Linked DNA regions of Homo sapiens: regions 1 and 2 are each linked to region 3. Evidence: promoter capture Hi-C in human tissues and cell types (Jung and others, 2019). All regions are on one chromosome and are shown on one strand. Each heading gives the region's core, a stretch centred on a gene start or on the middle of the fragment in contact. The rest is flanking DNA. Distances are from core to core; before and after follow the strand shown. Region 1 holds the start of IFT52 (intraflagellar transport 52). Region 2 holds the start of L3MBTL1 (L3MBTL histone methyl-lysine binding protein 1). Region 3 holds the start of GTSF1L (gametocyte specific factor 1 like).

Evidence for each region. The method cuts DNA at HindIII sites, captures the fragments that hold promoters and counts their contacts. A contact is called where the count stands out against the background at its distance.
Region 1: a contact is called between the fragment with the promoter of IFT52 here and the fragment with the promoter of GTSF1L in region 3, in 1 of the 25 tissues and cell types used here (lymphoblastoid cells).
Region 2: a contact is called between the fragment with the promoter of L3MBTL1 here and the fragment with the promoter of GTSF1L in region 3, in 3 of the 25 tissues and cell types used here (IMR-90 fibroblasts, lymphoblastoid cells and small bowel).

What each region holds. Positions count from the first base shown.
Region 1 is chr20:43,589,563-43,592,262 of GRCh38, reverse strand. It overlaps IFT52 (intraflagellar transport 52), which reads right to left and starts at 1,326. Exons shown (of 14, transcript NM_016004.5): 1 at 1,209-1,326. RefSeq lists an enhancer at 1,135-1,204. The HindIII fragment of the contact is 21,857 bases long and covers 1-2,700 here.
Region 2 is chr20:43,506,324-43,509,023 of GRCh38, reverse strand. It overlaps L3MBTL1 (L3MBTL histone methyl-lysine binding protein 1), which reads right to left and starts at 1,327. Exons shown (of 22, transcript NM_001377303.1): 1 at 1,280-1,327. RefSeq lists a silencer at 1,117-1,446. The HindIII fragment of the contact is 9,495 bases long and covers 1-2,700 here.
Region 3 is chr20:43,725,476-43,728,371 of GRCh38, reverse strand. It overlaps GTSF1L (gametocyte specific factor 1 like), which reads left to right and starts at 1,370. Exons shown (of 1, transcript NM_176791.4): 1 at 1,370-2,208. The coding sequence starts at 1,678. The coding sequence ends at 2,124. The HindIII fragment of the contact is 17,400 bases long and covers 1-2,896 here.

The DNA of each region.
Region 1 (2,700 bases), core at 77-2,576, 140 kb after region 3:
CCGCCTCCCAAGTTCAAGCAATTCTCCTGCCTCAGCCTCCCCAGTAGCTGGGATTACAGGCGCGCGCCATAGTAGAGACGGTGTTTCACCAGGTTGGCCAGGCTGGTCTGGAACTCCTGACCTCAAGTGATCCACCCGCTTTGGCCTCCCAAAGTGCTGGGATTACAGGTGTGAGCCACCTCGCTCGACTGGTTTAATTATTTTCTAAATTGCTAAAAAAGCTGCCTGACCCCAATTCATCTCTTCAATGCTGATTTGAAATACAGTACCACCTCGCCTATATAATAAATCCCTATATATAAATCGCTCTTATTCTGAGTTCTAATATATTTTATCTACCTGTAAGCTCCTGCTGAGTCCCAAACTTTTTAAATTAATTTATTTATTTTCAGAGACAGGGTTTCCTTTTGATACCCATGCTGGTCTCTGACTCCTGGGCTCAAGGGATCCTGCCGCCTCAGCCTACCAAGTAGCCAGGACTACGGGCCCACACTGCTGCACCCATCTTCTATGCTAGTTTAATTGCTATACCTTTATGTTATAATATCTGGTGGTTCTGGAGAGCTAATCTCCCTTATTAGCATTAATTTTAGAATTTTCCTGGCTACTTTCACATATTTATCCTTCTTTAAGCACTTTAACATCATTTTGTCCAGTTGAAAAACTGCCCCCTCCATGGTCCCACCACCGTGATACATCTATCTTTTTTTGTTCTGTTAGTTCAGCCCCTGGTGAGAGTAGCAGGTCTGCGTTCCTGTACTGTCAGACTTAGCCAGAAATGCATTTCCTTAATAATAGTATAAGGCCTTTAAAACTATAAAAATAACAAATATTTGGGTAACGCTGCCAAACCATTCTCTCGCTTTCTCTTCAATAACATTACCAGTCAAATCAGTATTTTCCCACATGAATACCGAGGGGTCGCAGCCACGACAGAAGAGAGATTAAGACTGTACGATTCCTCGTCCCATGCTCTTTCATAGTCAGCGGAACGACTAAACACCTGCACCACCCGAGGCCGTGGAGATGGGCGCCCAGCCGGGGCGCCAGGAACCCGGGCTACGTCCGCGCCCACAGTTTACTTCACCCCGGGGGACCCTGGATGTTCTATGACCGGCCCAGCGGCCTCGAAGAGTGCGGCGAGTCCCTCGCCAGCTCCCAGGCCGCACCAACGCCCCAGCCGGCCCACCACTGTTGGCGCCCTTTACCTGAGGCCCAGCGACCACCGCTCACCTGACGCCGCCCAGCATCCCGCGGCCAGGTATCCAAGGCCGCTTAGTAACCGGAGAGGCGCGTCGGTGCGCCGGGAGGCGTGGCCCAGGACGCAGCGCTAGCTCCGGCCGACGTGATGACGACAGCACGGAAGGCGCCTCTCCGTCGCAGGCGTCAGGGGTAGGCAGCCTGACTGATGTGGGGCTGTACCATTTGGTGCATGAGGGGCAAATCCAAACATAAGGAGAATTAACTTTTCACCAAAAATAAACCCATTTAATTTTGTTCTTTAGTATCAATTACGAGTAAAGACTAATAACAACGGTAGGACCCAAGTGCCCAAACTTCGCTCCACCCACAGGGAGGAGAATAGTGAAGGCTTCCAGCGCGGGGGGGTTGGAGAACGCCCCAGCTTCGATTCCCAAAGCGCAGGAGCAGAGTGGAGCCAGGCGAGGGCGGGGCCGGGCGGAAGGCTGTGCTGGACTATTAGGAACTACTTAACGGAAAAGGGTGCGCAGGTTTAGTGTTGAGAATGATAAACCGTATAATTCTGTTTTATTAACTCCGCATCTTTGCTTGCCATGGTACTAGGCTTGAGCGCCGGCGAGCATGGCGGGGAGTTAGAACTTGAATAGATTCTACAAAAATGTGAAAACTATGAACTGTATTAGGGAGTCTAACGACTAAGCTGGTCAAAAAGGCGCCCCTGTTGAGCAGAGATTTGAAGAGAGAGTGGTATTCATTAAGGCAAAGGCTGGGGAAGGGCGTTCCCGGCAGAAAGAACTGCTTGTGCAAAAGCACCACCAATACAGGTTGCCCTGCCATCGCCATTAAGATGGGAAACCAGAAGCCTGCAACTACCAACAGGCCACCCGACTACCCAGGAAAGCGCTCTGTGCCTGCCTTTAGAGGTGTGTGGATTTGTGAACAACGCTGCAGCAGCCTGGAAGACCCAAACTGAAGATTGCAGAGAGCTCTGACAGTTTTTATTTACATTTATGTTTGTCTTCGAATCTAGGATATTAAAACACATACAACTCGTGTTGCTTTCCACAATTTCTGTCACTGGAAATTTTAAAAGTGGAGACGGGCCGGGCGCAGCGGCTCTCTCCTGTAATCCCAGCACTTTGGGAGGCCGAGGCAGGTGGATCTCTTTAGCCCAGGAGTTTGAGGCCAGCCTAGGCAACATGGCGAAACCCGGTATCTACTAAAAATAGGAAAAATTACCTGGGCGTGGTGGCGCGCGCCTGTAGTCCCAGCTGCTTGGGAGACTGAGGTGGGAGGATTGATTGATTGATCCTAGGAGGTTGAGGCTGCAGTGAGCCGTCATGGTGCCGCCGCACTCTAGCCTAGGCAACACAGTGAGACCTTGTCTCAAAAAGAAAGTGGAGAACAGGGTGATTTGAGAATTCTCTTTGGTCAGATGAAGTGGCTTCTGCCTGTAATCCCAGCATTTTGGGAGGCCAAGGTGGGAGGACTGCTTGAGGC
Region 2 (2,700 bases), core at 78-2,577, 220 kb after region 3:
ACTGAAGAAAGTTTTCAGCCTTCTGCCGTCAGCCTCTCTTGGAACTGCTCTGAGCCTAGGGAGCTACCTCACTTGAAGGCTCTCCTAGAAGCCGCCAGCCAATGACGAGTTGCTATGAGGTGTAAAGACCCCACCCCCTTGCCTTACTTTGGAACACCTCTGCAGGGCCATCTCAGTTCCAGAGCTTCCATTAGGTCAGGCTGAGGCCTCTGTTGAGACTACATCAGCAGTTCAGCTTCTTCTTCCGCCCAACCCGTCATTCCCCTACTGGTGATATTCGCAAGAGCACTCCGATAAACCTACACTCAAATCTTGCTATCGGAGTCTGTTTCGGGGGACCCGACCTAAAACAACCATTGTAGCCCCAGCCCAGAGCCGTGCACATAGCAGATGCTCAATAAATATCTGTTGGCTGAATGTGTCCATGGGTATTTTCTCTTGATGTCTGACAAGGTTTTCTCAATCCCTTGCCTTCCAAGGCCTTGTATACAAAAACGACCAATAAATGTCCTTACTATAGGTGTTGGGTGGGGAGTAGAGCCCTCGACAGCTACCCAGAAAACAACACACAGCAAGGCTGAGCGCTACAAACTTGGGGCCTCGGCCCCGCCCCTCGCCGCAGCTGCTTCCCGGACTCGGGAGGGGACGGAAGCGGCCCTGAGCGCAGGGTTCCAGGATCGGGACCCGCCACCAGCCTCCCGGGACTGGTATAGGCAAAGGCGGGCGGGGCGGTCACTGATCCGACAGTTCCGCAGAACGGTTACTTTTTAAAACGCTAAAATGGCGGAATTCTTTTTATTCTTTCTCTTTATGGCCAAAAAAAAAAAAAGAGAGAGAAACAAAAAAAATTCCATATTCCATTATAAAAATCCAAAATTAATGGTAGGAAAGTTTGCCAAATGACTCATTCATTTCCCAAGAAAACCAAAACCCCGCCCTCCACACCTTTCCATTAATAAAAAAACTCTTAATTGATTGCGTATCTCCAAACACGCAGCCTCCACCCTCCTCGCCCCTCCTGATCGCAGCCCGAAGCCACGCCGCAGGGTCGGCTGGGCCTGGAGTCCCGCACCCGCCTGGCCCCCTGCGCGCTCCGCCCAGACCGCTTTCCCCGGCGTTTTCCCGAACCTCCTCCCCAGCCCGCGCCCCCCGCCGGAGGCGCTCGGAAGGAGCGAGACGCCGGGGCCGCAGACCTGAGCCCTCGCCGCCCTGGACGGAGCGGGGTGGCGCGGCGCCCAGGGGACGCAAGGTCTGAGCCCACGCACCGCTGGTTGCTTACCTGCCTGGCCAGCCGGTGGCCGCCCAGCGCCTAGCTACGGTCCGAGCCGGGCGCCGCGCGCCTGCGCGTTCGGGGGGCGGGTCCGCCTCCCTGCAGGACGCAGAGCGCGGGGCCCGAGCGCCGGGCACATCTGCCCGGCCCAGGCGCAGGCCCAGGCTTCTGTGGCGCCCGCGCCCTCTTGCCTGCCTTCGAGGCCCTGGTTGTGCGCGCCTCATGCCCCCTCAACCTAGGACAGGTTTGCCGCACGGGCGTGGCGGGTCGAGATTTTTCCTGCCCCCGAACCCCTGCATCACAGCTAGCAGAGCGCAGCGGGGGCGCAGGGACCGCGGAGCTCGAAGAGAGAGCCTGGAGGGCTACCGAGCTGAGTGGTTAGTGACAAAAGACGAGGCTGCACCCAGGCATGCACCCCAGCCGAGTGTCTGCTCTGTCCAACGCCTTCCCACCGCGCCTGCCCTCACCCTGGAGGGGAGCTCAGGAGCGTCAGAAAACGGCCTCAGGAAGGGTGAAGGGCACGTGCGACCGGAGAGAGGAACCCTCGTGCGGGGACTCTGGTCCTGGCCCTGCCGGGCATAAAGAGCGGCATTAGCCGCGTCTACTTTTGGGTGACCCCACTGCGAAGGGCTGGGTAACATCAGTATCCCCCAGGTCCTCCATTTCGACATTGGTAAAGACTATCACCCACTTCATGGCGTATGGTCGTTTTCAGTTTGGGTTCCTGTGGTGGTGTAGCAATCACTGCCCCTCTCTGCTTCACTTTGACTGATCTCTTCGCCTCCACCTGATCTCTCTAATTAATCAAATCTCCTTGTTATTGGTTCTGGTAACACAAGATACCTGTCTCGCTTACACATACCACAGCTGGCACTTCACATAGATTTGAGTAATTCCAGAGGCTAAGAGGTTTCAAGCTCCAAGAGGGTAGGAAATATTAGTTTTTGTATTCCTAGTACCTAGCCCAGAGCGGGGCACAGAGTGGGTGCTTAATAAATATCTGTTGAGTGACTAAATGATGTAGGGTATGCAGATGAAAACAGGGTAACTTTTGGTACAGTCCACCATCCAGCCCCTCTCCCACACCAATGATTTAATTTAATCCCTTGATTTTACTTGGCCTTAAGTCATGGCCACATGTCAGACCACCAGGCTCCTGATTCCCTCCCAGGCCAGATGAGAAAAGGGTTCCTAATGAAATGTAGGCAAATTCTCCAAATTGCTGTGATCGACAGGTTTAAATTTATGCAGAATTTAACTATTCCGGTTGCCACGCCAACGCATTGCATGTGTTCTTCCTTGCTGCAATGTCAATTTTTAATCACATCTCATATTATTGGGAACAGGATTGCATCAGTTAAGGATGCTGGTTGCCATAACGATGGATGCCTTTTTCTACACATTGATACATACACAACCATCCGCTCAGT
Region 3 (2,896 bases), core at 121-2,620:
ACATGGCTGGTAAGTGGCAGGAGGTAGAATTTGAATACAGTCAGCTTCCTTAACCACCACCAAGAATAGGATGGGTGAGCTTTTTCTATAATGGGCCAGACAGAAAACATTAGAGGTTTCTAGGTCATCTGGATTCTGTTGCAACTACTCAAATCTAGCTCAAAAGCAGCCAATGGACAATATATAAACAAATGGGTGTGGCTGTGCTTCAATAAAACTTTATTTACAAAAGCAGATAGCCATCTGGATTTGAATCATGGGCCCATAGTTTGTTGACACATGATCTAGAATAACAAATCCTTGAAGATAGTCAAGGCTTTTGGGGGGAAAACTAATAACAAGCAGAGACTTGCTCTATCAGATATCAGCACATAAAGCTACAAAAATTATTTGGAATTGCATTATATTTATGTATCAATTTAGGATGACTATGTAATTTATGTAATTTAGTTTACAGAGAATATTCATTTATGATTTTGAGTCTTCCTATTCAGGAATATGGTATTTCTCTACTGTCACTCAGATCTTGAGAAACAATTTAACAGGGTGGGGGGTGGGAAGGAGCTCCAGGCCAATTTTTAGAAGAAATCCTACCTAACACCAGACATGTAAATAGAATGTCAGAGGACCAAAACCACTAACACCCTGAGATATGTGTCAATTGCGTCCATTCAGACTTTGGTCCAGTTCTGTGAGGGACAACGGCAGGGTCGACCTAAGATGGGGCGTTTTATAGGAAATGTTTCCCATGTTAAGCTGAACACCAAAAGGCTTCACCTTCTGCGATATATGAATAGATTTAAACCCTTCCCCCACACCCAAGGAGACTAGGCTGCTGTGGGCCTCAGCAGAGCAGAAGGGTAAAGAAAGACGGCCCTGAGAATCACATCCAAAAACCAGCCCTGGCAAAGCGCAGGGGCTCACACCTATCATCCCAGCACTTTGGGGGGCTGAGGCGGGTGGATCACCTGAGGTCAGGAGTTCAAGACCAGCCTGGCCAACATGGTGAAACCCGTCTCTACTAAAAATACAAAAAATTAGCCGGGCATGATGGCAGGTGCCTGTAATCCCAGCTACTCGGGAGCCTGAGGCAGGAGAATCACTTGAACCTGGGAGGCGGAGATTGCAGTGGGCCAAGATCGCACCACTGTACTCCAGCCTGGCAACAGAGCGAGACTCTGTCTCAAATAAAACAAAAACAAAAACAAAAAACAAATACGTACAGTTAAAAGACTTAAGTCACAACATACATCCATGAGCAATTTTAGATGGCAGCATTCCCAAAGCCATCCACCCCTCCCAAGCAGTGCACAATAGCCTCTTCCTGATGACTTAGGCTGCCCATTGTGACCACCGGTGACTGCAGCTTGACATCATAGTATATCCGTGAGTCAAGCGGCTGTGGGTTTTTGGCTCTTGCATCTGCTATAGTTCTGTCTCGGGTGCCATTTGCTAACTCTGTTCTCTGTGTAGCTGCTTTTGGCAGCTCCTCATCTCTCTTCTAATCCACCACTCACAGTCCTAGAGAACAGACCACAAGTTAAGACCGTCACCTACAGAATCCCAAGGGCCAAAACTGGGCAGAGGACAACTCCATCCTTCTTACAAAAGGGCTTCTCCACAAGAAGCATTTCCGTTAGACTCTAGCAGTGAGATACCCTGCTTCAAGAATTTCTCATGGAGCCAGAAGCCTTTGAAATTTGCCCTTATGATCCTCACCACCGAATCCCACTCAGCAGATTCCAGTACCACCTGGCATCGTGCAGGAGAAAGAACCCCAAGAAAGCCAAAAAGATGGCCACCTGCAAATACAACGCCTGCCACGTGGTCCCCATCAAAAATCTGGAGGAACATGAGGCTGTTTGTGTCAACAGGAGCGCTGTGGAAGAAGAGGACACCGAGAACCCTCTGAAAGTCAGTCCTCCTAGTTCAGAGCAGAACGATGACACCCAGCAGGTCTCACCCTGCCTTCCCAGCCCCGATATCTGGAATGTCGATGGCGCTAATTGCCAGCATGTGTTTGTCCTTAAGACTTTTTTTCCTCAAAAGGTTGTTTGTGAAAATGACACGAAAGAGTCAGCAAGAGAGACCAGTCCCCAGAAGATCCTCAGACCAGGACAGTAAACTGCCAGCTGAGGAAGGAGCACACGCCTCATCAATGCATGGAAGAACGTGCAATGCATCAGAATAAAAGACATGCAAAGTAAACTACCCTGGGCTACCTCTTTTTTTAACCTGGCAGATTGATAAATATCAAAAGGCTTAAAATACTCTGCTGGCAAAGGTAGGGCAAAATGGGCACTTTCATAACATTGGTGAGAATGTCAGTTGGTACAACCTCCACAGAGGGCAATTTGACAATAGCTATAAACATTATCAATGCATACAGGCTTTGATTGAGCAATTCCACTTCCAGGCTTCATTCTGTAAATATAATCACACATGTGGAAAATGAGCTAAGTACTAGCTTATTCACTGCAGCATTATTTGCAGCAGCAAAAGAGTTAGAAATGAGCCAGGTGTGTTGAATCACAGCTGTAGCCTGTTACTCTGGGAGCTGAGGCGAGAGGATCGCTTGAGTTCAGCCTGGGCAACATAGTGAGATCCTGTCTTAAGCAACAAAAAAAAAAGTCAAAAATGACCTAAATATCCATTAAAAGGGCCTGATTAAAAATAAGTTATACTGCAGCCATACAACAAAATATTATGCCGCCTTAAAAAAAGTGAGGAAGCTCTTTCTGTGCTGATATAGAAAGGTTGAGACACACTGTTGAGCTCAGAGGTCAGCAAACTGTTTCTGTAAAAGGCCAGATGGCAAATATCTTAGCCTTTGTCAGCCACACAGTCTGTGTTGCAACTACTCGGCCCTGCCACTGCAACACGAGAGCAGCCACAT